4 separate regions of the Homo sapiens genome follow, and all the other regions are linked to region 3. The links are contacts of gene promoters, found by promoter capture Hi-C in blood cells and fetal thymus (Javierre and others, 2016). All regions are on one chromosome and are shown on one strand. The core of a region is centred on a gene start or on the middle of the fragment in contact, and the rest is flanking DNA. Distances in the headings are between cores, read along the strand shown. Region 1 overlaps TEX11 (testis expressed 11). Region 2 overlaps TEX11 (testis expressed 11). Region 3 holds the start of DLG3 (discs large MAGUK scaffold protein 3). Region 4 overlaps TEX11 (testis expressed 11).

The links. The method cuts DNA at HindIII sites, captures the fragments that hold promoters and counts their contacts. A CHiCAGO score of 5 or more calls a contact.
Region 1: a contact is called between a fragment that was not itself captured here and the fragment with the promoter of DLG3 in region 3, in 1 of 17 cell types (M2 macrophages). The highest score is 7.4, in M2 macrophages.
Region 2: a contact is called between a fragment that was not itself captured here and the fragment with the promoter of DLG3 in region 3, in 1 of 17 cell types (M2 macrophages). The highest score is 7.4, in M2 macrophages.
Region 4: a contact is called between a fragment that was not itself captured here and the fragment with the promoter of DLG3 in region 3, in 1 of 17 cell types (M2 macrophages). The highest score is 8.3, in M2 macrophages.

What each region holds. Positions count from the first base shown.
Region 1 is chrX:70,581,769-70,589,656 of GRCh38, forward strand. The region is part of intron 25 of TEX11 (testis expressed 11); the gene reads right to left. Among named protein-coding and RNA genes, the nearest start is that of DLG3-AS1, 130 kb to the left of the region's middle. The HindIII fragment of the contact is 670 bases long and covers 3,163-3,832 here.
Region 2 is chrX:70,600,914-70,608,725 of GRCh38, forward strand. It overlaps TEX11 (testis expressed 11), which reads right to left. Exons shown (of 30, transcript NM_031276.3): 23 at 6,046-6,116; 24 at 4,488-4,604. Among named protein-coding and RNA genes, the nearest start is that of DLG3-AS1, 150 kb to the left of the region's middle. The HindIII fragment of the contact is 787 bases long and covers 4,819-5,605 here.
Region 3 is chrX:70,439,251-70,446,308 of GRCh38, forward strand. It overlaps DLG3 (discs large MAGUK scaffold protein 3), which reads left to right and starts at 5,585. Exons shown (of 19, transcript NM_021120.4): 1 at 5,585-6,308. The coding sequence starts at 5,952. RefSeq lists an enhancer at 5,103-5,889. The HindIII fragment of the contact is 21,076 bases long and covers 1-7,058 here.
Region 4 is chrX:70,646,356-70,653,832 of GRCh38, forward strand. TEX11 (testis expressed 11) reads right to left here. Exons shown (of 30, transcript NM_031276.3): 17 at 5,095-5,197. Among named protein-coding and RNA genes, the nearest start is that of DLG3-AS1, 190 kb to the left of the region's middle. The HindIII fragment of the contact is 4,065 bases long and covers 41-4,105 here.

The sequences.
Region 1 (7,888 bases), core at 2,248-4,747, 140 kb after region 3:
CAATTGCACCCCTCAAATTTTCTCTTTGAAATAGATATTATTTTGGTTAAAAGTTAAAATTAAAACAAGTGGTTGAGATTATATTATGAGCAATAGTGACAAATGGGTATATGCTTCTGTTTTAAAGGGAAAAGTAGTTTGTTTCTAAGACAGTAGTTCTCAAACTTTCTGTTCTCAGGACCTCTTCGTACTCTGAAATATTACTAAGGACTTCCAAAGAGGTTTTCCGCATGTATGTTGTAACTATCAATACTTACCATATTATAAATTAAAACAGAAAAAATTAAATATATTTATTGATTGAATTGATTTGAGATGAATCTGTTGCATGTTGATGTCAATTTTAATAAAAATAATTTTATTTTAAAAATAAGAAGATTGCTTCACATTTTTGCAAAGTTCCCTAATGCCCAACTTAATAGAAATAATTAGACTCTACTATCTGCTTCTGCATTCAATCTATTACAATATCACACATCATACTGCCCCTGAAAAACTACACATCTTAGTATTATAATAAAAATAGTTTTGACCTAGCAGATGCTCTGAAAGATGGTCAGTTTGTTCCAGAACATCAAAGAGCATAATGAAGGACAAACTGGGAAAGTTAAATTTTTTTGCCCTGGTTTAAACCTAGGTCTGAAATAAAGCTATGCAATGTGTTAAAATTGTAGCAACCTTATCTAAATTTTGATGGGCTTGCTTCCTTAATTTATTGATTAATGCCTTCACCACAATGCAAAAGTTATTCTTCATCTTCTGTGTAATCTGCCTAGATAGCAGACTCTGTGTTTTACAAGAATAATTCTCTGAGCTTTATGTTGTCTTTTTCTTTATTTTTGATTATTTAGTGGCAAACTAACAAAGAACAAAGGTTCCTCACTTGTCAAAGAGCTAAAGTTCTTTAGAATTGTGTTACCTCCTATGTTAGAATTGTGTTACCTCCTATGTACATTTATTTATTTATTTATTTATTTATTTATTTATTTATTTATGTGATGGAATCTCACTCTGTCTCCCAGGCTGGAGTGCAGTGGCACAATCTTGGCTCACTGCAATCTCCACCTCCCAGGTTCAAGCAATTCTCCTACCTCAGCCTCCCGAGTAGCTGGGATTACAGGCGTGCACCACCACACCGAGCTAATTTTTGTATTTTTAGTAGATACGGGGTTTCACCATGTTGGCCAGGCTGGTCTTGAACTCCTGACTTCAGGTGATCCACCCACCTCGGCCTTCCAAAGCCCTATGTTTATTTTTAAATGTTTGATTGTCACTTTGTTTAAATAGGTAACCAAGTATTGTTTATTGGGCACTCATGATCCTATTTATTTATTTTTATTTTTAATTTATATAAATTTAAAGGACAGAAGTTCAGTTTTGTTACATGGATATATTAAGTAGTAGTGAAGTCTGGGTATTTACTGTAACCATCACCCAAATAATGTACATTGTACCTATTAAGTAATTTCTCATCCTTTAACCCCCTCCCACCATCTCACCCTTCCTAGTCTCCAGTGTCCATTATTCCACACTCTATGTCCATGTGCATACTTTATTTAGCTCCCACTTATGAGTGAGAACATGCAGTATTTGACGTTCTGGTTCTGAGTTGTTTCACTTAAGATAATGGCCTCCAGTTTCATCCACGTTACTGCAAATGACCTGATTTCATTCTATTTTTATGGCTGAGTACTATTTAATTGTGTGTATCTTCATTCCACATTTTCTTTGTCCAATCTTCCATTGATGGATACGTAGGTTGACTCCATATCATTGCAACTGTGAATAGTGCTGCAATAAATATATGGGTGCTGGTATCTTTTTAATATATAATTTCTTTTCCTTTGGGTAGATACCTAGTAATGGCATTGCTGGATTGAAAAGTCATCAGAAAAATGCAAATTAAAACCACAATGACATATCATCTTACACCAGTCAGGATGTCCATTATTAAAATGTCAAAAAATAACGATGTTGGCAAGGATGCAGAGAAAAGGAAATGCTTTACACTGCTGGTGGGAATGTAAATCAGTAGAGCTTCCATGGACAACAGTGTGAAGATTTCTCAAAGAACTAAAAACAGAACTACCAGATCCTATTTTAATCAAGGCCCAATTTGCCTCTAACAACTCTTGATTTTACCTTCCAAAAATTGAATCACAAATAGAGATTACTATGAACTACTGTACATCAAAAAATTAGATAACTTAGATAAAATGACAAATTCCTGGCCGGGCGCGGTGGCTCACGCCTGTAATCCCAGCACTTTGGGAGGCCGAGGCGGGTGGATCATGAGGTCAGGAGATCGAGACCATCCTGGCTAACAAGGTGAAACCCCGTCTCTACTAAAAATACAAAAAAAAAATTAGCCGGGCGCGGTGGCGGGCGCCTGTAGTCCCAGCTACTCGGGAGGCTGAGGCAGGAGAATGGCGTGAACCCGGGAAGCGGAACTTGCAGTGAGCCGAGATTACGCCACTGCAGTCCGCAGTCTGGCCTGGGCGACAGAGCGAGACTCCGTCTCAAAAAAAAAAAAAAAAATGACAAATTACTAAAAGCACACAAATTACTAAATTGACTTTAGAAGAAATAGAAAATCTCAACAGACCTATAACAAGTAAAGAGATTAAATAAGTAATTTAAAACCTCCCAATAAACAGAAGTCTAGGACCAGATGGCTTCACTGGTGAATTCTTCCAAACATTTAAAGAAGAATAAACAGCAGTTCTCTCAAACTCTTCCAAATAATGGAAGAGGAGGGAATACTTCCTAACTTCTTCTATGAAGCCAGCATTACCCTGATACTAAAGCCAAATGTAGACATCACAAGAAAAGAAAATTACAAACCAATATTCTTTATGGATATCAATTAAAAAAACCCCATGAAAATACTAGCAAACCAAATCTTACAGCATATTAAAGGATTATACAATCTGATTAGGTGTGATTTATCCCAAGAACGCAAGTTCAACATAAGTAAATCAATTAATGTAATATACCACATCAATAGAAAAAAGGAAAAAAGGTCATATTCATTGATGCAGAAAAATCATGTGATGAAATCCAAAATATTTTCAAGATAAACTAGGAATGGAAGGGAATAGCCTCAATCTGATAAAGGGCATTAAAAAAAATTCCACAGTTAACATTATACTCAAAGGTGGAAGCTTAGCCCTAAGATCAGGAACAAGACAAGGATGCCCTCTCTCACTACCGCTATTCAACATTGTACAGGAAGTTTGCTATTCAACATTGTACGGGAAGTTTTAGCCAGATAAATTAGGCAACAAAGAGAAACAAAAGGCATCCAAAGTAAAAAGAAAGAAGTGTAACTCTCACTGTTCACAGATGACATGACCCTACGTATAGAAAATCCCAAAGAAACCACAAGAAAGCTACAAATTCGGCAAAGTTGCAGGTACAAGATGAACATGCAAAGATCAATTGTGTTTCTATACATCAGCAATGAACAATCTAAAGAGGAAATTAAGAAAACAATTCATTTACAATAGTATTCAAAAGAATGAATTTAGCCAAGAAGGTGGAAGATCTGTACAATGATTACTATAACACACTGATGAAAGACATTAAAGAAGACCTAAATAAATGAAAAGACAGCCTACATTTATGGATTGGAAGACTTAATATTGTTAAGATGTCAACATTTCAAAACTTATATCACGCTAAGCGATCCCTATCAAAATTCCACCAGCCTCTTTTTACAGAAATGAAAAAGTCAATTCTCAAATTTATATGGAATTGTAAGGTGCCCCAATAGTTCAAAATGAATCTTGAAAAATAACAAAGTTGGAGGGCCAACACTTCTCTGTTTCAAAGCTTATTAGAAAGCTACAGTAATAAAACAGTGTGGTACTACCATACAGATAGACATATAGACCAATAGAATAGAACTGAGAGTTAAGAAATAAACCCATACATCTATGGCTGACTGATTTTCAACAAGGGTGTCAAGACCATTATATGGGACAAAGAATAGTCTCTTCAGGCCGGGTGTGGTGGCTTACACCTGTAATCCCAGCACTTTGGGAGGCCGAGGTGGGTGGATCACCTGAGGTCAGGAGTTCGAGACCAGCCTGACCAACATGGTGAAACCCTACCTCTACTAAAAATACAAAATTAGCCAGGCATGGTGGTGCATGCCTGTAATCCCAGCTACTTGGGAGGCTGAGGCAGAAGAATCACTTGAACCAGGGAGGAGGAGGTTGTAGTGAGCCAAGGTTGTGCCATTGCACTCCAGCCTGGGCAACAAGCAAAACTCCGTCTCAAAACAAACAAACAAACAAAAAATAATAGTCTCTTCAACAAATGGCATGGTGGCAACTGGATTTCCACAGGCAAAAGAATGAAGTTGGATGCCTACTACACCATTGAATATAAAAATGAACTCAAAATGGATCAATTACCCAAACATATAAGCTAAAACCATAAAACTCTTAGAAGAATTTATAGGAATAAATCTTCATGACTTTGGATTTGGCAATGGATTCTTTGACATGACACTGAAAGCACAAGCAACAAAAGAAAAGGTAGATAAATTGGACTTCATCAAAGTTAAAAACTTTTTTACATCAAAGGACATTATCAAGAAAGTGAAAAGAAAACATGCAGGAGAAAATATTTGCAAATCATATACCTGATAAGGGTTTAATATACAGAATATATAAAGAAATCCTAAAACGCAACACCAAAAAACAACCCAATTTTAAATATGGGCAAAGAACTTGAATAGACAAGTCCTTTCCCTCCCTCAAAGATGAAATACAAATAACCAATAAGCACATGAAAAGATGCTCAACATCTTTAGTCATCAGAGAAATACTAATCAAAACCATGAGATACTATTTAACCTACTAGAATAGCTATAATAATAAAAAATGGAAAACAACAAGTGTTGGCAAGGAGGTGGAGAAATTAAGATACATTTCCTGGTGGGAATGTAAAATGGCGAGAATGGACTAATACAGTAAATTGGTGCCAGTAGAGTGAGGTACTGCTATAAAGAGACCCAAAAATGTGGAAGTGACTTTGGAACTGGGTGACAGGTAAGAGGTTGGAACACTTTGGAGGGTTTAGAAGACAGGAAGATCTGGGAAAGTTTGGAACTTCCTAGAGACTTGTTGAATGGTTTTGGCCAAAATGCTTATAGTGATATGAACAGTGAAGCCCAGGCTGACATAATCTCACATGGAGATGAGGAACTTCTTGGGAACTGGAGCAAAGGTCACTCTTGCTATGCTTTAGCAAAGAGACTGGTGGCATTTTGCCTCTGCCCTAGAGACCTCTGGAACTATGAACTTGAGAGAGACGATCTGAAATTGGAACTTATGTTTAAAAGGGAAGCAGAGCATAAAAGTTTGGAAAATTTTCAGCCTGACAATGCAACTGAAGAGAGAAACCCATTTTCTGGGGAGAAATTCAAGCTGGCTGCAGATATTTGCATAAGTAATGAGGAGCCCAATGTTAATCACAAAGACAATAGGGAAAATGTCTCCAGGGCACGTCAGAGACCTTCAAGGCAGCTCCTCCCATCACAGGTCTGGAGGCCTAGGAGGGAAAAATGGTTTCCTGGGCCAGGCCCAGGGCTTCTCTGCTTTGTGTACTCTTGGAACTGTGACTTCTAGCCACATCCTAGCCATGGCTAAAAGGGGCCAACATACAGCTCAGGCCATTGCTTCAAAGGGTGCAAGCCCCAAGCCTTGGTGGCTTTCATGTGGTGTTGTGCCTGTGGGTGCACAGAAGTCAAGAATTGAGGTTTGGGAACTTCTACCTAGATTTCAGAGGATGTATGGAAACAAATGGGTGTCCGTGGAGAAGTTTGCTGCAGGGGTGGAGTCCTCATGGAGAACCTCTGCTAGGGTAGTGAGGAAGGGAAATGTGGGGTTGGAGCCCCCACACAGAGTCCCCACTGGGGCACTGCCTGGTGGAGCTGTAAGAAGAGGGCCACCATCCTCCAGACCCCAGAATGGTAGATCCACTGACAGCTTGCACTGTGCACCCAGAAAAGCCACAGACACTCAATGCCAGCCCGTGAAAGCAACCAAGAGGGAGGCTGTACCCTGCAAAGCCACAGGGGCAGAGCTGCCCAAGACGATGGGAACCCACCTCTTGCATCAGCATGACCTGTATGTGAGACATGGAGTCAAAGGAGATCATTTTGGAGCTTTAAGATTTGATGCCCTGCTGGATTTCAGATTTGCTTGGGGCCTGTAGCCCCTTTGTTTTGGCCAATTTCTCCCATTTGGAATGGGTGTATTTACCCAATATCTGTACCCCCATTTTATCTAGGAAGTAACTAACTTGGTTTTGCTGTTATAGGCTTACAGGTGGAAGGGACTTGCCTTGTCTCAGATGAGACTTTGAACATGGACTTATGAGTTAATGCTGGAATGAATTAAGACTTTGGGGGACTGTTGGGAAGGCATGATTGGTTTTGAAATGTGAAAGGCACATGAGATTTGGGAGGGTCCGGGGTGGAACCATATGGTTAGGCTTTGTGTCTCCACCCAAATCTCTTCTTGAATTGTAATCCCCATAATTCCCATGTATTAAGGGAGAGATTGGGTGGAGGTGATTGAATCACAAGGGCAATTTCCCTCTTGCCCTTCTCGTGATAGTGAGTTCTCATGAGATCTGATGGTTTTATAAGGGACTCTTCCCCTTCACTCGGCACTTCTCCTTCCCATCACCTTGTGAAGAAGGTGCCTTGCTTCCCCTTCGCCTTCTGCCATGATTCTAAGTTTCCTAAGGCCTCCCCAGCCATGCTGAACTGTGAGTCAATTAAACCTCTTTCCTTTATAAATTACCCAGTCTCAGGCAGTTCTTTACAGCAGTATGAAAATGGACTAATACACCATATGATGGAATAGAATTCAGCCTTAAAATGGAAGGGAATTTTGACACATGCTATGACATGGACGAATCTTGAATACATTATGCTAAGTGAAATAAGCCAGTTACAAAAAGACAAATATTGTATGATTCACTTAAAGGAAATATCTAGGGTTGGGCATGGTGGTTCACACCTGTAATCACAGCACTTAAGGAGGTCAAGGTGGGAGGATAGCTTGAGCGCAGGGTTCAAGGCTGCAGTGAGCTATGATTGTGCCACTGCACTCCATCCTAAGCAACAGACCAAAACCCCAACTCAAAAAAAAAAAAAAAGAAAGAAATATCTAGAATAGGCAAATTCATAGAGGCAGTAAGCATATGAGAGGTTACCAGGGGCTGGAGAAAGGGGGAATGGGGAAATTATTCTTTAATGGATACAGAGTTTCTGTTTGGGATGATGAAAAAATTTAAAAATAGATAGTGGTAATGGTTGTACAACTGTACACTTAAAAATGGTCAAAATAGCATATTTTATGTTATATATATTTTACCACAAAACTTTCATGAAATAATGTACTGTTTTCCAATAGGGAATTTTACTTTCCTTCATTCTGATATTAGTCACCTTAATTAACTACAGCCATTAAATCTCTATAATGTATAGACAGTTAAAAAAACTCTGAAGATTGCCTGAAGTCTATATATAAACTATATAGATACATATATATATGTATATAGTCTAGCTGTGTGTATAAAAATATACTTAGACTATATATATGTATATATAGAGAGGCATTTATCTCTATCTCACTATATCTCTCTATCTACTCTATCTATAGCCTAGTTGTATTCCTAAAAAAGAAGAAATTCATTTTTTTTGGTGGACAGTTAGCATTCTGACATACTTTTTTATTTTTTATTTTTTTGGAAACAGTGTCTTGCTGTGCTGCCCAGGCTGGAGTGCAGTGGACAATCTAGGCTTACTGCAAACTCCGCCTGCGGGGTTCAAGCGATTCTCGTGTCTCAGGCTCCCAAGTAGCTG
Region 2 (7,812 bases), core at 3,962-6,461, 160 kb after region 3:
AGGAAAGATCCAAAATTGACACCCTAACATCACAATTAAAAGAACTAGAAAAGCAAGAGCAAACACATTCAAAAGCTAGCAGAAGGCAAGAAATAACTAAAATCAGAGCAGAACTGAAGGAAATAGAGACACAAAAAACCCTTCAAAAAATTAATGAATCCAGGAGCTGGTTTTTTGAAAGGATCAACAAAATTGATAGACCACTAGCAAGACTAATAAAGAAAAAAAGAGAGAAGAATCAAATAGATGCAATAAAAAATGATAAAGGGGATATCACCACCGATCCCACAGAAATACAAACTACCATCAGAGAATACTACAAACACCTCTACGCAAATAAACTAGAAAATCTAGAAGAAATGGATAAATTCCTTGACACATACACTCTCCCAAGACTAAACCAGGAAGAAGTTGAATCTCTGAATAGACCAATAACAGGATCTGAAATTGTGGCAATAATCAATAGCTTACCAACCAAAAAGAGTCCAGGACCAGATGGATTCACAGCCGAATTCTACCAGAGGTACAAGGAGGAACTGGTACCATACCTTCTGAAACTATTCCAATCAATAGAAAAAGAGGGAATCCTCCCTAACTCATTTTATGAGGCCAGCATCATTCTTTTTTTTTTTTTTTTTTTTTATTGATCATTCTTGGGTGTTTCTCGCAGAGGGGGATTTGGCAGGGTCATAGGACAATAGTGGAGGGAAGGTCAGCAGATAAACAAGTGAACAAAGGTCTCTGGTTTTCCTAGGCAGAGGACCCTGCGGCCTTCTGCAGTGTTTGTGTCCCTGGGTACTTAAGATTAGGGAGTGGTGATGACTCTTAACGAGCATGCTGCCTTCAAGCATCTGTTTAACAAAGCACATCTTGCACCGCCCTTAATCCATTTAACCCTGAGTGGACACAGCACATGTTTCAGAGAGCACAGGGTTGGGGATAAGGTCACAGATCAACAGGATCCCAAGGCAGAAGAATTTCTCTTAGTACAGAACAAAATGAAAAGTCTCCCATGTCCACTTCTATCCACACAGACCCGGCAACCATCCGATTTCTCAATTTTTTCCCCACCCTTCCCGCCTTTCTATTCCACAAAACCGCCATTGTCATCATGGCCCATCCCCAATGAGCCGCTGGGCACACCTCCCAGATGGGGTCCTGGCCGGGCAGAGGGGCTCCTCACTTCCCAGTAGGGGCGGCCGGGCAGAAGCGCCCCTCACCTCCTGGATAGGGCGGCTGGCCGGGCGGGGGGCTGACCCCCCCACCTCCCTCCCGGATGGGGCGGCTGGAGGCCAGCATCATTCTGATACCAAAGCCGGGCAGAGACACAACCAAAAAAGAGAATTTTAGACCAATATCCTTGATGAACATTGATGCAAAAATCCTCAATATAATACTGGCAAACCAAATCCAGCAGCACATCAAAAAGCTTATCCACCATGATCAAGTGGGCTTCATCCCTGGGATGCAAGGCTGGTTCAATATACGCAAATCAATAAATGTAATCCAGCATATAAACAGAGCCAAAGACAAAAACCACATGATTATCTCAATAGATGCAGAAAAGGCCTTTGACAAAATTCAACAACCCTTCATGCTAAAAACTCTCAATAAATTAGGTATTGATGGGATGTATTTCAAAATAATAAGAGCTATCTATGACAAACCCACAGCCAATATCATACTGAATGGGCAAACACTGGAAGCATTCCCTTTGAAAACTGGCACAAGACAGGGATGCCCTCTCTCACCACTCCTATTCAACATAGTGTTGGAAGTTCTGGCCACGGCAATTAGGCAGGAGAAGGAAATAAAGGGTATCCAATTAGGAAAAGAGGAAGTCAAATTGTCCCTGTTTGCAGATGACATGATTGTATATCTAGAAAACCCCATTGTCTCAGCCCAAAATCTCCTTAAGCTGATAAGCAACTTCAGCAAAGTCTCAGGATACAAAATCAATGTACAAAAATCAGAAGCATTCTTATACACCAATAACAGACAAACAGAGAGCCAAATCATGAGAGAACTCCCATTCACAATTGCTTCAAAGAGAATAAAATACCTAGGAATCCAACTTACAAGGGATATGAAGGACCTCTTCAAGGAGAACTACAAACCACTGCTCAAGGAAATAAAAGAGGATACAAACAAATGGAAGAACATTCCATGCTCATGGGTAGGAAGAATCAATATCGTGAAAATGGCCATACTGCCCAAGGTAATTTATAGATTCAATGCCATCCCCATCAAGCTACCAATGACTTTCTTCACAGAATTGGAAAAAACTACTTTAAAGTTCATATGGAACCAAAAAGGAGCCCGCATCGCCAAGTCAATCCTAAGCCAAAAGAACAAAGCTGGAGGCATCACACTACCTGACTTCAAACTATACTACAAGGCTACAGTAACCAAAACAGCATGGTACTGGTACCAAAACAGAGATATAGATCAATGGAACAGAACAGAGCCCTCAGAAATAACGCCGCATATCTACAACTCTCTGATCTTTGACAAACCTGAGAAAAACAAGCAATGGGGAAAGGATTCCCTATTTAATAAACGGTGCTGGGAAAACTGGCTAGCCATATGTAGAAAGCTGAAACTGGATCCCTTCCTTACACCTTATACAAAAATCAATTCAAGATGGATTAAAGACTTAAACATTCGACCTAAAACCATAAAAACCCTAAAGGAAACCTAGGCATTACCATTCAGGACATAGGCATGGGCAAGGACTTCATGTCTAAAACACCAAAAGCAGTGGCAACCAAAGCCAAAATTGACAAATGGGATCTAATTAAACTAAAGAGCTTCTGCACAGCAAAAGAAACTACCATCAGAGTGAACAGGCAACCTACAACATGGGAGAAAATTTTCGCAACCTACTCATCTGACAAAGGGCTAATATCCAGAATCTACAAGGAACTCCAACAAATTTACAAGAAAAAAACAAACAACCCCATCAAAAAGTGGGCGAAGGACATGAACAAGTATTCTTTAGAGAGACAGAGTACCACTGTCCGATTCATAGGGACCACACTTAGATGATAAAAGGCAGAAGTGCATCTTCAATTATGTATATAGACATCCTTTCAAAAGCAAAGAAGATTATAGAAAGGTTACTAGTTTAGAGAGTTCTGAGAAAACACAGAGGTGTACATGAGAAAGAACACAGAATAAAAAAGAACGGTAGTTAGAAACAAACAAAATAATGATTGTACTTAAGAGTTTGTGAAATTTCCCCCACATCAATTTGATCTCTATTCACTAAGATAAAAAATTAAACAAACTCAGGATTACCAACCAAAAAGGAAAAACTTTTAGAAATTTAAAAGCACTATATAAAAATAAGATGTTATTATTATTTTTTAGTAAAGCAAAAGTCCCTATTGAGAATTAAATTACATTTACCTTTGCCTGTTAAGTAGAATTTTTGTTTGTTTATTTTGCTCTGGGGAAGGTAGAGTCTTTTCTCATCTTCTTTTAAAATAAAAAGACTCTTAAAAGAGGGCCCCCTTTACTCCTCAGAGGCAAGGACTTTGGCTTCTTTATCTCTGTATCCCCAGTACCTAGAAAAGTGTCTGGTGCTCAAATGTTTTTTGAGTTGAACTCAACAATGGAAGGGAAAAGAAGCGAAATAGTTGGCATAGCTCTGGTGAGAGTTTGTTTCAGATCCAAAGAACAATATGAAATAAGAGATTAACAGGAGGAAGAGAATAAACAGCAAAGGGTTTATATTACTTGGAGAGGAGGGAAGGTGACAAGTATGGGAGATTAGGAAGTTTTCTTTGTCCAGGTACGAGAAACCAAGCAGAGAGATCTAGATCTTAAAAATCATACAAAAATGCTATTGGTCTGATTTGGAGACAATTTTCTTAGATTGAAAGAAGAAAGGTAAACAGCTAAAAGCAAACCAATAATCTGGTGTATGGGAGACGGTGATATTGATAGCTCCTAAAAGGGGTAACATTTAAGAATCTGATAGGGGAATTCAGGCAAAGGTAAGGAATTCTGTCTTGTAGAAATTAAGTTAATGAGATATTTAAGGATGTGGGAAAAAGAAAGCAAATGCAATTGAGAGAAGAAAAACCAGATAAGTAATAATTTCAGATGGCTATCAAAGCTATGGAAACAGATGAGTTCTTCCTTAGAAGATGTGGTAAGAAACAAAAGTGGAGTCCAAACGCGTATATAATCACAGGCAGACAATGAAGATAAAAGATATTTAAAAACATTTTTGGAAAGAGTGGTCCATAGGAAGGGGAATTTTAAAAGAAGAGATATCTAATCTTCTTAAAAGAAGAGGCCACACCAAAAGTAACCTTTGCTTAGGAAGGAATTAGCCATTACAAACTTTTGAAATCAAGACGATGCTGGAGTGGAGAAAAGGATTCTCTAAAGAGAATCAAAAAGAACTGCATCAGGGAAGGCAAACATATCAAATAGCACACTGAACTCTTGTCTTTTCTTTGAAGGTTGCACATTACCTGTTCAAAAGCTGTTGAAGCTTTTCTCCCTTGCTCTAGATCAACTGCAACTGCCATAAGTAAACATGTTTTCCGTGCAATCAGAATTACTTGATCAGAAGGACAAAACTGGGACATCTGATAAGAAGTAACCAGAACATCAATGAATAGTGAGAATTCTGCCAGGTGAACACAAACAATCAGAATGAAAATCAGCAACTTCCTGTTTGAATGAGAAAATTCAGCTGGAAAAGCACATGTCACCATAGAAATGATATAAACTATAATACTGATTTATGCTTTTAATTTTATATTACTTTCCATTGTTTTTAGTACCTTCCTAGAGATAAAAAGCTTCATTTCTTCACAGTATTCCTATCTTTTCCAGTGACAAGTAGTATCATTCGCCCTTGTATTTCTATCTAGTGATTTACTTCTTGGTTTATGTTGTAATTTGTAAGTGATTTTTCCCCTGGCAAATAAGATTTCCACCTTTGTATTGAATAGAGCCAAAATTAGTTCATATATTGTCATGGTTGAAAGAGGCATTGTCAAATCTTGACAGGCATTAGTCATGACCTCATCATTAACATTGTATAGTTTTAGGAAAAACTCCCAGCTACTACAATAAAACTCTAGGCCATTTGGATTCTTACACGCCAATCCTACAAGTCCCATCACAAATGCCAAAACTAAAACCAATTTATTTCACTTAATTAAAATGGCAGTTATGCCTAAACTTGCAAAGACTATTTCTTAATCTCCCCAAACATTCAGTGATCATAATCATCATTGTTATTAAATTAATAGCATTTTAAGACAACCAATCTCTTTAGGTCTCTGATTACTCTTATGTGAGATGAAGGAGTTGTGCTAGATAGTCTTTATAGTTCTTTCTAGCTCTAAAACTCTTAACATTTAATTGATCTCAACATATCATACTGTGTATTCCTGAATGTGTATGAAGGATATTCTTTAGTCCTTCTCCTTTTATCTTCCTGTCAATACTTGGTCCTCTTTCTGGCATTTAACCTCTACCTTGGAGGCCAACGACTATTTAAAAATGCTTATAATTAAATAACAAACTCACAAATCGCTACACTCAGGACCTGCTATAGGAAAGTTATAAAGGAGGCCTAAGCTTCTTATCTCTTTTTTCAGCCCCTGCTATCCCCAGATACTTATTCTATGTTCTTGTAGACTTATTCCCATAACTCTTCATAATGTGTTGGTAATTAACAACTACTTAGAGTATTCCCCTCCTAAAGATATTTACATTTTAATATAGGACTTTGGGAGGCTGAGATCCCTTCAAAGGCAAAGAAATAAGTCTTAAATGGTAGAACTTTAGGCTCCCTGATGAATGTTTCTGATATTTTGGTATAGAAAGATATGCCCCACATTCTTATGTTATACCCTAAAAGGAACAAATTCTTCTTAGGTCATTCCTGCTTACATATATATTAAAAGTTCCTAGATCAAGAGACAATCCTAGTCTATATTTAGCCCTTTACTATAGCCATAGTGGTTATAGCCTTGTTGTGGTCCATACATGAGATACTTATTAAAAGAAACTTACCTTATAAGAAAGTATAAAAAACTCTCTCATCATCACTGGATCTTTGTCACATTGCACAGCCAAGTTCCAAGCTGGAAATTAACATGAAATAACATAATAATATGAAATTATGAAAATCTACCATTTAGTCTGTACCATTACAATTTCTGATACTTACACCTTTGATATTAACATACTAGTAAGGGGTTTCTCAAGGTTTAAACAATTAACTTTAGGTTTTAAAGAAAAATTTTCCAGGTAAATTTAGAGACCCTCGTCAATTCCAATCTTCAACACTAGACCAATGACCAAGGGAGGTACTGCTGAATTTTTTAAAATTGGGGACATGCAATAAGAATTCTTAGCTGAGGCCAGGCTTGGTGGCTCATTCCTATAATCCCAGAACTTTGGGAGACCAAGGCAGGAGGATTGCTGGAGGCCAGGAGTTCAGGACCAGCCTGGGCAACAGAGAGAGACTCCGTCTATACAAAAAAATTAAAAAACAAACCAAAACAAAACAAAACTAGCCAGGTGTGGTGGCACACAACTATAGTCCCAGAAGACTGACACCAGGAATTTGAGGTTACAGTGAGCTATGATGCCACCACTGCACTCCAGTCTGGCAGCAAAACTCCGTCTCAAAAAAAAAAAAAATTCTTAATTGACACTAATCTATCTAAAAATGAAGATCAACATGGATAGAGCTCACTAACTCGCAGTGGTGAAAGTAAGTTAAAATTCACCTAAGAACAAGGTACACTGTAATCAAGAGTTGAGAAAAATTACTGGAGAGATTCATATCTTCCAAAGAGCAGTAGAAGCCCTCATCAGGCATCAGTCAGCATCATCTTCCCCTTGGAAAATCCAAATTAAAATGCAGTAAAGTAAAAACATTCCTTTTCAAACCTTCAAAAGATTAAAGTCACCAAACTTGTCTATATTTTAAATGTTTGTTATTTTTCATTATTTGCATCAGTTTCTTAGAAGTCAGATTGCAGTATTCATTCCCTTTCTCCCAGGATTAAAGCCCTATTAAACCTCATAACACAGGGAGAGGTTCATGTAGAATCAGTCCACTTTGTGGCACTGCTGCTTAATTGCTCATGCTTACTTATCACTGTAGTAACTGCCTCCGCAAGTTTTAAAATCATTTTTATTGAAATAGAGCCATTATAAAGTATATTACACAACTCATAATTGTACAGCTTGATGAATTTTCACAAAGTGGACATATCCATGCGTCTGGCACCCACATTAAGAAAGATCTTGAACATTACCAGAAACCCTGAAGCTCCTACAACTTTCAAGTCCAACTCCTTTTCCAGGGTAACCATTATCCTGACTTATAACACCATATATTAGTTTTGCCCATTTAAAAAATTATAAATAAAATGAACAACACAATATGTATTCTTCAATATCTAGCTTCTTTTGCTCAACATTATGTTTGTGAGATTCATCCATATTGTTGTATATAGTTCATTTTTGGTCAATCACACTCAGAAATAAATTAAGTATTCTAGGCCAGGCACGGTGGCTTACGCCTGTAATCCTAGCACTTTGGGAGGCCGAGGCAGGTGGATCACGAGGTCAGGAGATCGAGACCATCCTGGCTAACACGGTGAAACCCCATCTCTACTAAAAATACAAAAAATTAGCCGGGCGTGGTGGCGGGTGCCTGTAGTCCCAGCTACTAGGGAGGCTGAGGCAGGAGAATGGTGTGAACCCGGGAGGCGGAGCTGGCAGTGAGCTGAGATCAAGCCACTGCACTCCAGCCTGGGCGACAGA
Region 3 (7,058 bases), core at 4,335-6,834:
AGCCTAAACTTCCATCCCTGAGGGGTAACAAGAACCCCTTCCTGTTGGGTGGTGTCAGTGTCAGAGAAGCCTGGTGGTGAGTCAGGACTTTTACCACAACATATCATTTGATGAGGCCATTAGCCTCCCTCTCCTCCCCTCCCAAAATCTCTCCACCTCCTGACTGTGGTGTTAGTGGAAGCCCACCTGGGGAACAGTAAAAAGGCACTTCTGCCCCTTCCAGCTAGAGAGGCATCAGTAGAGGCATAGTAGGGAGCTGGAATTTTTACCCCTGCACAGTAGAAAGGAGAAGCCTCCACCACACATACCAACCAAGACCAAGGAGGGAAATTGAACTTGAACCTCTACCCGGCAGTAACCAGGCAGTGGCCCTTTCCTCTGATGAAAATCGTGTCAGAAGAAGCCTACCAGAAACAAAAGATGTAAATGAAATCCAGAGTCTCATACTGTAATATCCAAAAATTCCCAGGATGCAATAAAAATCACTCTATATCTAAGCCCAGCACCTATAGTCCCAGTTATTCAGGAGGCTGAGTTGGGAGAATCACTTGAGCCCAGGAGTTCAAGGTCAGCTTGGGCAACATAGTGAGACCCTGTGTCCTTTTTTTTTTTTTTTTTTGAGACGGAGTCTTGCTCTGTCGCCCAGGCTGGAGTCAGTGGCGCAATATTGGCTCACCGCAACCTCCGCCTCCCGGGTTCAAGCGATTCTCCTGCCTCAGCCTGCTGAGTAGCTGGGACTACAGGCACCCGCCACCACGCCCAGGCAATTTTTGTATTTTTAGTAGAGACAGGTTTCACCATATTGACTAGGCTAGTCTCGAACTCCTGACCTTGTGATCCACCCGCCTCGGCCTCCCAAAGTGCTGGGATTACAGGTGTGAGCCACTGCGCCCAGCCGACCCTGTGTCTTAAAAAAAAAAAAAATTCACTCATTATACCAAGAACCAGGAGACCCTCAATTTGAATGAGAAAGAGAAAGATTTCAACTACCTGACAAAGATTCTAAAGTGGCCAACATTAAAAAAAATGCTTCTATGAGCAATCTATGAGCAATTACAAACAAGGTTAAAACGAATGTAAAAAATAGTAAGTCTTGGCAAAGAAATAAGAGATATAATGAAGAATCAAATAAAATTTTAGAACAAACTATAATAACCAAACTAAAAAACTCAGTAGATGAGCTCAAAAGGAGGATGGAGAGGACAGAGGAAAGAATCAGTGAACATAAAGATAGAACATTAGAAATTACCCAATCTGAACAACAATGAGAAAATAATAGACAAAAAATAAATGAACAGAGCTGGGCACAGTGGCTCACGCCTGTAATCCCAGCACTTTGGGAGGCTGAGGTGGGCAGATCACTTGAGCCCAGGAGTTCAAGACCAGCTTGGGCAACATGGCGAAACCCTGTCTCTATTAAAAATACAAAAATTAGCTGGATGTGGTGATGCACACCTGTAGTCCCAGCTACTCAGGGGGCTGAGGTGGGAGGATCACCTGAGCTTGGGAGATCGGGGCTGCAGTAAGCTGTGATTGTGCCACTACATTCTAGCTTGGGTGACAAAATGAAACAGAGTCTCAAAGAAAAAAAAATGAACAGAGCCTCAGGGATGCTTGGGACTATAACGAAGGACTTAACATTCACATAATTGGAGATGTGGAAGAAGAAGAGAAAGAGCATGGGGCTAAAAAAAATTACTCAAGAAATAATGGCTGAAAATTTGGCAAAAGACATAAATGAACAGGTTCAAGAGGTTGAACAAACCCCAAATAGGATAAACTCAAATTCACCCCAAGGCACATCATAATCAAACTTCTGAAAACTGAAGATGGGAAACTTGAAAGCAGCAAGAGAGAAACAACACCTTACCTACATAGGAAAAGGAATTCAAATGTGGCCAGGTACAGTGGCTAACACCTGTAATTCCAATACTTTGGGAGGCCAAGGTGGGAGGATAACCCAAGGCCAGGAGTTTGAGACCAGCCTGGGCAACATAATGAGACCTCGTCTCTACTAAAAATAAAAAAATTAACCAGGAGTGGTGTGCGCCTATAGTCCCACCTACTGAGGAGCCTGCTTGGGAGACTGAGGCAGGAGGATCACTTTGAGGCCAGGAGTTTCAAGGCTGCAGTGAACTATGGTCACACCACTGCACTCCAGCATGCTATATCTGGTGAAAATATCCTTCAGGAATGAGGGGGAAATCAAGACATTCTCAGACAAAGGAAAGCTAAGATAATTTGTTGCCAGCAGACAAAGAATGGCTAAAGGAAGTTATCAAAACTTACAGATGAATAATGGAACCATTTACATGTAATGAAACTTACATGTAAATGGTTCAGAAAAAGGGATAGATAGATAGATAGATAGATAGATAGATAGATAGAGCATTAACTGGGCATGGTGGCACACACCTGTGGTCCCAGCCACTTGTGAGGCTGAGGTGGGAGGATTGCTTGAGCCCGGGAGTTTGAGGTTGCAGTGAGCCATGATCACGCCACTGCACTCTAACCTGAGTGAGTGAGCAAGACCTACTCTTTAAAAAATATAGATAGATGGATAGATACATAGATACATAGACAGAGCAAATATAACAATCAAAACAAGTCAAATTGTCGACTTGATAAGGAAGGCATACAGTGGTGTCCATTGTACTACTCTTCCAATATTTTTGTATGTTTGTAAATTTTCATTTTTAAAACTGTTGGAGAGGATATGTGGAGGATAGATATATGATAAAGCAAGCATAGCAAAATGTTAATGAGAATCCTAGGCAGTGGGTAATTGGATGTTCACTGTAAAATTCTTTGAATTTTTCTGTATGTTTGAAAACTTTCATATTAAACTGTGGGGGCAAAAAACTTGAAAAAAAAATCACAACTTGGTATCCTCCCCTACCATTCCCAATCCATCTTACTGTGCTCTACTTTTTATTTTTTTCCATGGCACTTATCACCATATACACAGCAGGTGTATATGCTGAATAATGTTGTTTTCTTCAACATCATTTTGTTTTAACATTGATGAGGGGGAAAAAAAAACAACTAAAACGATTCCTGGCCAGAGCCACTGTCTGTGTGGAGTTTGCACACTCTCCCCATGTATGTGTGGGTTTTCTCGGGTATTCCAGGGTACTGCGCTTCCTCCCACATCCCAGTGCACGTTAGGTGAATTGGCGTGTCTAAATTGTCCCAGTGTGAGTGAGTGTGGGTGTGTATGTGAGCGCACCCTGTGATGGAATGGCATCCTGTCCAGGATTGGTTCCTGCCCTGTACCCTGAGCTGCTGTGATAGGCTGTGGCCACCCTTGACCCTGAACTGAAATAAGCAGATTGAAAAATGAATGAATGGATGGATGGATGGATGGATGGATGGATACAAAGTACTGTAAAATAAAAATTTGTCAAGTAGTTGATAATCATACAAATGCACAATAAACTATGAGGTAAGAAAGTGCTCATCGAGCTCACCATATTCGTGATTGTTTGCTTTTGAACTGCATGGTGGTAGGGAGGTGCTCCTTACAATTTTCGCTTTGCATACATTTATTCCTTGATTCAACCCACCACCACTTCCACTGCTGTCACTCACTGGTTCACCAAAGGTTAGGTAATTATTTACTTGTTTTCATTAATCTTTCTATATGTATGCATAGCTCATATTTATTTCAATGTTCAATATCAGAAGTGTTTTGGGTCTTTATTTGGAAGCTGGGTGATGTTTTGTGACCAGAAATATGCTGTAGGAACTTAGCTCTTGTTTATATTAATTAGCCTGTGGTAAAATTGGTTTTGTTATACGTTGTTTCACTTAGTCCCAGTTGCCAAGGACCTACCAATGATGTTAAATGAGGACCTACTGTACTACATAATTCACTTATTTATTGTGTTTATTTTTGTCTGTGTCCTCTCACTAGGAGGTAAGCTCCCCAAGGGCAGGGATTTGTTCTGTTTGTTCTGTTTTATTTTGTTTCCTGCTATATCCCCAAATCCTACAACAGTGTCTGGCACACAGCAAGTGTTCCACGCATATTTGTTGAATTAAGAATGAATCTCTGAGGGCCGGGCACAGTGGATCACACCTGCAATCCCAGCACTTTGGGAGGCCAAGGTGGGTGGATCACTTGACGTCGGGAGTTCGAGACCAGCCTGGCCAACGTGATGAAACCCCATCTCTACTAAGAAAATACAAAAATTAGCCGGGCGTGGTGGCAGGAGCCTGTAGTCCTAGCTACTAGGGAGACTGAGAGGCAGGAGAATCGTTTGAACCTGGGAAGCTGAGGTTGCAGTGAGCTGAGATCACGCCACTGCACTCCAGCCTGGGTGACAGAATGAGAATCCATCTCAAAAAAAAAAAAAAAAAAAAAAAAGAACCTCTGTATCCCTAATACCTAGGTCAAGGTCTTGCACAGAGCAGGTGCTCAATGAATATTTGCTGAATTGAACTGAGATGTAAATTCTGCAGGAGAACTTAGAATAGACCTGTCGTACTAGAGTGGTTCACAGCGTGGACTCTGGAGTCAAATAATCAGGATTTGCATCCTGATTCTGTCACTTCCAGCTGTGTTACCTAGCTGTGTTAACATCTTTGAGCCTCAATTTCTCATTGGTAAAATGAAGATAATAATAGCATCAGCTTGGTAGGATTTGGGTTTGCGTGTTATGCACTTAGGACTTTGTAAAGACCCAATAATTGGTAGCTAAAAACAAAACAAGAACTGCAAAAAAGATAGTCTTTCTTGTATGTCATCCTTCCTCCATTCCCCCGACAAGCTGAGCCAGGAGAGGGTAAGGAGATGTCCTTGGACAAGTATTCCTAAGCTCTATTCCAGACCCATAGAAGGGTTTCTCTCTCTTCAAATCCCTTCTTACCTTTTCACCTGTCCTGGACTTTCATCTTGATATCCTGAAGTTCCTTCCCCCATCATAACCATGCAGGGGTGGAGTGGAGGAGATAGGGGTTTGTGGGCCAGGGACAAGGACTTAGAGCTTTCTGTTAATCCCTGTTCTAGGGTTGAGTTCTTTACTGGTGATGGTAGAAGGTCAAGTGTGAGGTCACAGTAATTTCAGGGCCTAGAGACTGAGAGAACAATAGTCTTGTGTAGGAGGCATTGACAGGACAGCGGGCCTCATATGCTGCCTTCTTCTTTGGTCCCCTGTAAGAGAAAGCACCTCCCTCACCCTGCTCCAACGTCCTTTCTGTCCATCCTGCTACCTCGTCTTTACTTCTGGTGGCCCCAGCTCAGAGCAAGCCTGGGGACCCATTGAACATCTCCCTGCAACTCCCTCTTGGAAGTGGGGTGGGGTGGAGTGGGCAGAGGACAGGCTAAAACTGGCGATATAAGGGCACAAGATCGGGTGCCTGAGCTTTCTGGTGGCCCACGTCCTCTGCCCCCGCCCTTAGAGCCAACAGTTCCCTAGAGATTGGGGGAGCTGGGGCTGAGCCTGGGGGCGCCGCTGCCTCTGTTCCTTTAAGTAGCCGCTGTTTAGCATTCCTGCCGCCGCCGCTGCCGCTGCCGCTGCCTGCCTCTGCGCGCTGATTGGCTGGAATCAACTGAGAAGGGAGCCAGGGAGAGATGCTCTTGACTCCACTCAGATCCATCCTGGGGACCAGAGCAGAAGCGGTCCTCACAGCACCCATTCTCTGCTTGAGCTCCCGCTTCTTCTTTGCCGCTGGGCCTCGGCCCAGAAGCCACGACGGGCGACACGGAGCCGCCAGTGCTGGAGGGGGAGCCGTGGGTGCGGGGCAGCGTGGGGGCCGAGGCCCCGGGACGCCCGCCCGGCCCCAGGCCCCGCTCAGCCCGGGCGCCCCCACGGGTGCCCCCCCCTTCTTGGTCCGAGCAGTGTGAGTGTGCCAGGGAGCCCGGCGGCGGCGGCGGCGGTGGTGGCGGCGGTGGCGGCGGCGTGGAATCCGGCGTGGGCTGGGGGGTCCGAGCCGCGGGGGGCAGTGCCATGCACAAGCACCAGCACTGCTGTAAGTGCCCTGAGTGCTATGAGGTGACCCGCCTGGCCGCCCTGCGGCGCCTCGAGCCTCCGGGCTACGGCGACTGGCAAGTCCCCGACCCTTACGGGCCAGGTGGGGGCAACGGCGCCAGCGCGGGTTATGGGGGCTACAGCTCGCAGACCTTGCCCTCGCAGGCGGGGGCCACCCCCACCCCTCGCACCAAGGCCAAGCTCATCCCCACCGGCCGGGATGTGGGGCCGGTGCCTCCTAAGCCAGTCCCGGGCAAGAGCACCCCCAAACTCAACGGCAGCGGCCCCAGCTGGTGGCCAGAGTGCACCTGTACCAACCGGGACTGGTATGAGCAGGTATGGACCAGCGGAGGGGGGAGCGGTGGGGCAACCCAGGAGGGCTGGAGAGTGGGGGCCTAGAGGCCTGGGATGCAGTAGGGGTCGCTGGGGCTCCAAGCCTGTGGACCCCGAGCCCTAGCATTGCAGCTGGGCAAAGAGAGGCGGTGGGAAATGTGTGGTTCCCTGTGTGTGTCTGTTTGGGGGTCTCCATTAGAAGACTGGGAGGAGCCGTGTGTCAGGGGGTAAGGGCATGGCGGAGGGGCACATTTTCCTGTGTGGGGGAATTGGGTTTGTCTCAGTGTGGGGGTTTGGCAATGTCTCTGTGTCTGGCAGGGGGCGGGAGGTTCTGCGGGGGCTGTGTGTGGTGTGTGTCTCCACCGGAGGGGAGGGGAGGGGGCATGGTGCTCTGCGTAGGGGGGACATATGTGTGTGTATGTATGTTGGGGTGTGTGGAGGAAGGCAATGGAGCTGCCGTGAATCCGTGTGGAGGAGCCCATGTGCCCGGCTCGCTGAGCTTCATCCCTTGATGCCATGAGTCCCTCTCCGTCCCAGTCCCTTTGTGTGTGAATGTGCACATGGATGTGTGGAGATGTCACTCTGAATGTGGAGAGGTCTCTGTAGAGGAGGCTGCAGGGATGGCTGTGTTTGTGTGTGTGGCTACATGTATATGTGTGTGAGCATGTGGCTGCAAGAGTGTGCACGCGTGTGCCTGGTGTGTGTGTGTGAGTGTGTGTTTGTATGTGTTGTCTCTGGTGAGAGGCGCTTGAC
Region 4 (7,477 bases), core at 823-3,322, 200 kb after region 3:
AAACACAAAAATAGACACATGGGATTACATCAAACTAAAAAGCTTCCACACAGCAAAAGAAACCATCAACAGAGTGAAGACACAATGTATGGAATGGGAGAATATATTTACAAACCAGGCATTTGAGAAGGGGTTAACATCCAAAATATATAAGAAATTCAAACAATTCAATAGGAAGGAAACAAATAACCTGATTTTAAAATGGGCAAATGACCTGACAAGACACTTCTCAAAAGGAGATGAGCAAGTGGTCCACAAGTATATGAAAAAATGTCTAACATCACTACTCATCAGAGAAACGCAAATTAAAACCACGATGATAACATCACCCCACATCTGCTAGAATGGCTATTATAAAAAAGACAAAGGAGAGCAAGTGCTGACAAGGATGCGGAGAATAGGGAACTCTTGCATATTGTAGGTGGGAATGTAAATTAGTATAGCCATCATGGAAAGCAGTATGGAGGTTCCTCAAAAAAATTAAAGTAGAACTACCATATGATCCAGCAGTCCCACTACGTAGTAGAATATAAAAAAGAAGTGAAATCAATATGTCAAAGAGATATCTGCACTCCCATATTCATTGCAGCATTATTCACAATAGCCATGGTATGGAATCAACTTAACTGTTTATCGGTGGATAAGTGGATAAAGAAAATCTGGTGTATATATAGACAATGGAATACTATTCAGCCTCAATAAAAGGAGGAAATCCTGTCATTTATGAAAAAAAGGTATGAACCTCGAAGACATTATATTAAGTGAAATAAGCCAGGCACACAAAAATAAATACCACATGATCTCATATGTGAAATCTAAAGAAGTTGACCTCATAGAAGCAGAATAGAATGTTCATAGAAGCAAAGTAGAATGGTGGTTACCAGGGACTAAGGAGTCGGGGAGATTAGGGAGATGGTGAAAGAATACAGAATTTCCGTTGAGCAGAAGGAACAAGTTCAAGAGATCTATTGTACAACATGGTGACTATAGATTATAACAATGTATTCTATTCTTAAAAATCACTGAGAGTTTAAGTGTTCTCACCACAAAAAAAATGCTAAGTATGTGAGGTAGGGTTGGGTGTGATGGCTCATGCCTGTAATCCTAGCACTTTGGGAGGCTGAAGCAGGAGGATTGCTTGAGCCCAGGAGTTTGAGGCCAGCCTGGGCAACATAGTGAGACTCCATCTATACAAAAAATAATAAAAAAGATGAGGTGGAGGATCTCTTGAGCCTGGGAGGTCAAGGCTGCAATGAGCCGTGATCATTCCACTGCACTTCCACTTGGGTGACAGAGTAAGACCTTGCTTCAAAAAAATAAAAAATAAAAAAAGGATGTGAGGTAATGTATATGTTAATTAGCTTGATTTAGCCATTCCACAATGTATACATATCTTTAAAACACCATGTTGTTGCTGGAGAGGATGTGGAGAAACAGGAACACTTTTACACTGTTGGTGGGACTGTAAACTAGTTCAACCATTGTGGAAGTCAGTGTGGCGATTCCTCAGGGATCTAGAACTAGAAACACCATTTGACCCAGCCATCCCATTACTGGGTATATACTCAAAGAAGTATAAATCATGCTGCTATAAAGACACATGCACACGTATGTTTATTGCAGCACTATTCACGATAGCAAAGACTTGGAACCAACCCAAATGTCCATCAATGATAGACTGGATTAAGAAAATGTGGCACATATACACCATGGAATATTATGCAGCCATAAAAAATGATGAATTCATGTCCTTTGTAGGGACATGGATGAAGCTGGAAACCATCATTCTCAGCAAACTATAGTAAGGACAAAAAACCAAACACCGCATATTCTCACTCATAGGTGGGAATTGAACAATGAGAACACTTGGACACAGGAAGGGGAACATCACACCCCAGGGCCTGTTGTGGGATGGGGGACTGGGGAGGGATAGCATTAGGAGATATACCTAATGTAAATGACGAGTTAATGGGTGCAGCACACCAACATGGCACATGTATACATATGTAACAAACCTGCATGTTGTGCACATGTACCCTGAAACTTAAAGTATAATAATAAAATAAATAAATAAATAAAACCCACCATGTTGTTCATGATCAATATATATATAATTTTTATTTGCCAATTAAAAAAATAAGTTTTTAAAAAAGACAACTTGTATCCAGAATATATAAAGAACTGTCAAAAATCAGTAATAATAAAACAAAGTACCCTATCTTAAACTGGGAAAAAGATTTGTACAAACAACCCAAAAACATACATGGTTTAATAAAATATTAAACATTAGGGAAATGCTAATGCCACAGTAAAACACTACTACCCACTATCAGAATAGCTAAATTTTTGTTCTTTTTTATTGTTTTAACTTTAAGTTCTAGGATACATGTGCAGAAAGTGCAGTTTTATTACGTAGGCATACGTGTGTCATGGTGGTTTGATGCACCTATCAACCCATCACCTAGGTTTTAAGCCTCACATGCATTAGCTATTTGTCCTGATGTTCTCCCTCCCCTCCCCGCCCCCAACAGGCCCCAGTGTGTGTTGTTCCCCTTCCTGTGTCCATGTGTTCTCATTGTTCATCTCCCTCTTATGAGTGAGAACATGTGGTGTTTGGTTTTCGGTTCCTGCATTAGTTTGCTGAGGTTGATGGCTTCCAGCTTCATCCATGTGCCTGCAAAAGACATGATCTTATTCCTTTTTATGGCTGCATAGTATTCCACGGTGTATATGTACCACATTTTCTTTATCCAGTCTGCCATTGATGGGCATTTGGGTTGGTTCCATGTCTTTGCTATTGTGAATAGTGCTGCAATGAACACACGTGTGCATGTATCTTTATAATAGAATGGTTTATATTCCTTTGAGTATATACCCAGTAATGGGATTGCTGGGTCAAATAGTATTTCCGGTTCTAGATCCTTGAAGAATCACCATGCTGTCTTCCGCTATGATTGAACTAATTTACATTCCCACCAACAGTGTAAAAGCATTCCTATTTCTCTACAGCCTCACCAGCATCTGTTGTTTCTTGACTTTTTAATAATCTCCCAGAATGGCTAAATTTTTTTAAGTGGACAATTTCAAGTGCTGATGAGGATGTAGATCAGCTAGAACTCTTAAACATAGCTGGTTCACAGGTGAAATTGTATAGTCGCTTTAGAAAACAGTTTTGCAGTTTCTAATAAAGTTAAACATGTATTTACCATATAAGTCCACAGTCCCACTCCTAGATATTTACCCTACAGAAGTAAAATATTATCATCGAATTAACTGGGCATGGTGGTGCACACCTGTAGTCCCAGCTATTCAGGAGGCTGAGGCAGGAGAATCGCTTGAACCTGGGAGGTGGAGATTGCAGTGAGCTGAGATCATGCCACTGCACTCCAGCCTGGGTGACAGAGCAAGACCCCATCTCAAAAAAACAATATTATTATCACAGAAAATATGTAAAGAGATGTTTTACAGCACCTTTATTCACAATTGTCAAAACTGAAAACTTTGAACTTGTCTCAGAGGTGAAAAAAAACCCTGAAAACCATTCAAATATCCTTCAACTGGTGAATGCATTTTTCCATACTGTGGTATTTCCATACTATGGAATGCCACATAGCAATAAAAAAGAACAAACTGTGGATAAACACAATATGGGTGAGTTTCAAATGCATTAAGTTAAGTGAAAGAAGCTCAAAAAGATTCATACTATATGATTTCATTTATATGACATTCTGGAAAAGACAAAACTATAGAGATAGAAGAGATTACTGATTTCCAGGGCTGAAAGTGGTGAGAAGGAGTAACAGTAAAGGGCCCTGAGGTATTTTTTTTCTACATTGTGGTGGTAGTTATATGACTGTATGCACTTCAAAACTCAGAATTTTTAACATATATAAACCTCATAGGACCATACACTAGCAAGAGTAAATTTATTATATGTATCTTCAATATACGTGACTTAAAAAATGGTCACAGACAACTGGAGAAGAAATAAAAGGGTTGATCTGATGTTGTATTTAAAAAGTAAAATAATTTTTAAAAAATAATGTTAAAACAAAAGATTTAACAGGAAAATTACTAATATTTTTGCCATTTTTACTGGCAAAAAAGCTTCAAGTTATTTTACCCTTAAACACAGTATATCAAGTAAAACAAATGCCTAAAAGTCTCTAATGAAAACTTTGATGATGAACATGACAGCAATATTAACCTCTAATTTACTATTCCTTAATTATTATACAGGTATACTTTACTATTCTGGAACATTTCTTTTTTAATGTAAAATAAATGATCTTTTTTCTTAAGGAGTGAATAACAGAGTCCTTTGTACGTAGTAGGTGTCCAAAAACAGTTGCTTAATTGGATTCGTATACATTTTGTTTGGATCCATTAATTTAAGTTTCTTAACTTCTGCCAAACAAATGGCAACCAGTCTGGAGCTCAGACTCCTTCAGGATTAATTCAGCTACCTGAGGGCTGAAGGCATTAATATCTGAGCAAAGGCATATCTATAACCAATTCAACATATATGTGCCCATGCAGACACACCAGCTAGGAAACTATGCTTAACTTAATGGAAAGGCCTCAACATTAATGGGATGAGGGTCATGTGTGAAATTCCAAGACTGTCTACTCTGTGGAGAGAAACTCCATCTCAAGGCCAAATCTCTCACCAATCACCTCCCAAATAAGTGAAAACAATCAAAAGGTACCCCAACTTTCATTTTTTGAAGACAATTCTTAACTGATATGGGTTTTTAGTATAATCTCACCCACACACAGCTTTTTAAATTTAATTTTTGAATAGGTTGGTTTAAATAAAAGTATAAAAAAGTACATAGTGATAAGACTTTCCCCTAATTCTTGTCCCGCGTTTGCCCAGTTCCTATTCCCTCAATAGGTAACCACTGTTCTTTTACTTTTATATAACCTTCCACGGTTTCTTTTTGCATTGTTGTATCACCTTTACATAGGAAAGACAGAACATATATTCAATTCTATTGTCTTAAAAACAATGTTTTTTTCCCACTGTGGTTGAAGAGGATTATTTATTCTTTGTGTTAATAGTCAAATATAAGTGACAAATAAAATTTATACCTCTTTCAGAGTTGCCCTCTATGACTGCAATCTTGAATATATAAAATTGAGTGAAAACGTTCCTAGGGTCATGTCGTTCAGCTTCTGCCACTGCCTCTTTGGCCTGGAAAGAAAAACACTGGGTCATTTTAATAAAATCTACAAGGAAGGACTTACCATATTTTACTAATATCATTAAGGTAGTCAAAATGGCTGAGGGATACTCACAATGAAAATATATGAATCTAAGAAAAATATTTGCAGAAGTGCTCTTCTAGAATGCTAATGCAACAGTGAGTTATACTTCTGGAAATAGAGTAAGTTAGATATGTCAGACCAACCCTCCTGCTGAAAACAACCAAAAATATTGGATGATATATTAATTTTTTTCCAGAAAGAACAAAAGAGCAACTGACAAATAGCAAAAGAATTACCAAGGCAAAATCTAAGGAAAACTGAGGTCTCAGAGAGGTAAACAGAAAAGTAAAGTCGCTTTTATCTGGTAAGCATTTGCAAATGTAAGCAAATGTTAACTTCAGTTTTGAGGGACATCACTAGGTCAGGGGAAAAGACATCAAGTTCCAAGGGATCACACTCCTAGACTAGGGACAAGCCAAAAGTAAACCCACTCCTACCCACATCCCTGGAAAACTGCAAATAAAGTTACCTTAGTACTGAATAGAAGGCAGCACAATGGGGTGGAGGGAAACAATCCATGAGGTGTAATACTAGGAGACTCATGTATTCACTGACCCAAACTACATTATACAGGAAGCTAAAAGACCTAAAGCTGAGAATTTAGTTTAGATAGCTCCCAAGCATCTACAGAAGCAAATGTAAATCTTCTCTGGGGGAAAGCACCTTATGTCAGCCTTCGAAATATTTCCATAAATAATTTTTCAAGAACCATGAGTTGTACACGTTACAAAAATAACAAAGCACACTCGGAAACAAGGTACCATAAACAGCAGAAACGAGATAGCAGAAGCAGACCCTCAAGATGCAGATACTAGAATTATGAAAAACTGGTTATAAAACACCTATGTTTTCAAAGTCTAAAGAAATACAATGTATGTTCAAAATATATGTATGTGGGTTGATACACAGTGGTACAAATTAATACAGTTATAGTGGTTGTTTCTAGATGGTATCCATTCTGTCTCATTATTACCTGTGCCATACCAGTTATTAAATACTTTGCATATCAGTGAAGTTAGTAGGAAACAGAGACCATAAAATGTGACCTTGGGGATCTGAAACAAAGAAGCTTTTTGAAATGAAAAACCCAATTACCCAAATTAAAACATAATAGACAGGTTTAATAGCAGATTAGAAACAGGTGAAGAGAAAATTAGTGGGCTGAAAGAATAAAATAGCCAAAATGCAGCACAGAGCGATTACAAACATGGAAGACAGTTAAGAAAGGATTCTATACTTTCTAGGATAGCCACTAAAAGATTAGAAGCAGTAAATAATTTTCACACTAGTAGAAGGGGAAGACTGCAATGAAAAAAAAAATGAAAATAGTATTTTTAACAACTGGTGCTGGAACAACTAGACATCCACATGTAAAAAAGTAGAGCTAGACACAGACCATAAACCTCTCACAAAAATTAACTGAAAATGGATTATAACCTAAATATAAAAACCCAAACTATAAAACTTTTAGAAGATAACATAGGAGAAATTTTAGGTGAACTTTGGCAATGACTTTTTAGACACAACACCAAAACCATATCTATAAAAGAAAAAACTGGTAAGTTAAACTTCATTAAAATTAAAAACTGCTCTGTGAAAGACAGCATTAAGAGAATAATGATAAAAGCCACATATTGGGAAAAAATATTTGCCAAACACATATGTAATGAAGGACTGGTATTCAACATGTATGAAGAATTCTTCAAATTCAACAATAAGAAAATAAACAACCCAAGTATAAAATGGGCAAAAGACCTGAAGAAACACTTCACTAAATAAAATATGCAGATGGCAAATAAGTATATGAAAAGATGCTTAACATCTTATGTCATTAGGGTTTTGCAAATTAAAACAGCAATGAGATATCACTATGCATCTATTAGAATAACTAAAATTCAAAACACTTTAACGACATATAATGCTGGCAAGGATGTGGTGCAACAGGAACTCTCATTCATCACTGGTGGGAATGAAAAATGGTATAGCCAACTTGGAAGACAGTTTGGCAGTTTCCTACAAAACTAAACATACTCTTGCCATACAATCCAGCAGTTGCACCTTTGGTATTTATTCAAATGTGTCAAAACTTATGTCTACACAAAAATCTACATAAAGATATTTATAGTAGCTTTATTCATAACTGCCAAAATTTGGAAGCAACTAAGATGTTCTTCCATAGGTGAGTGTATAAACTAATATATCCAGA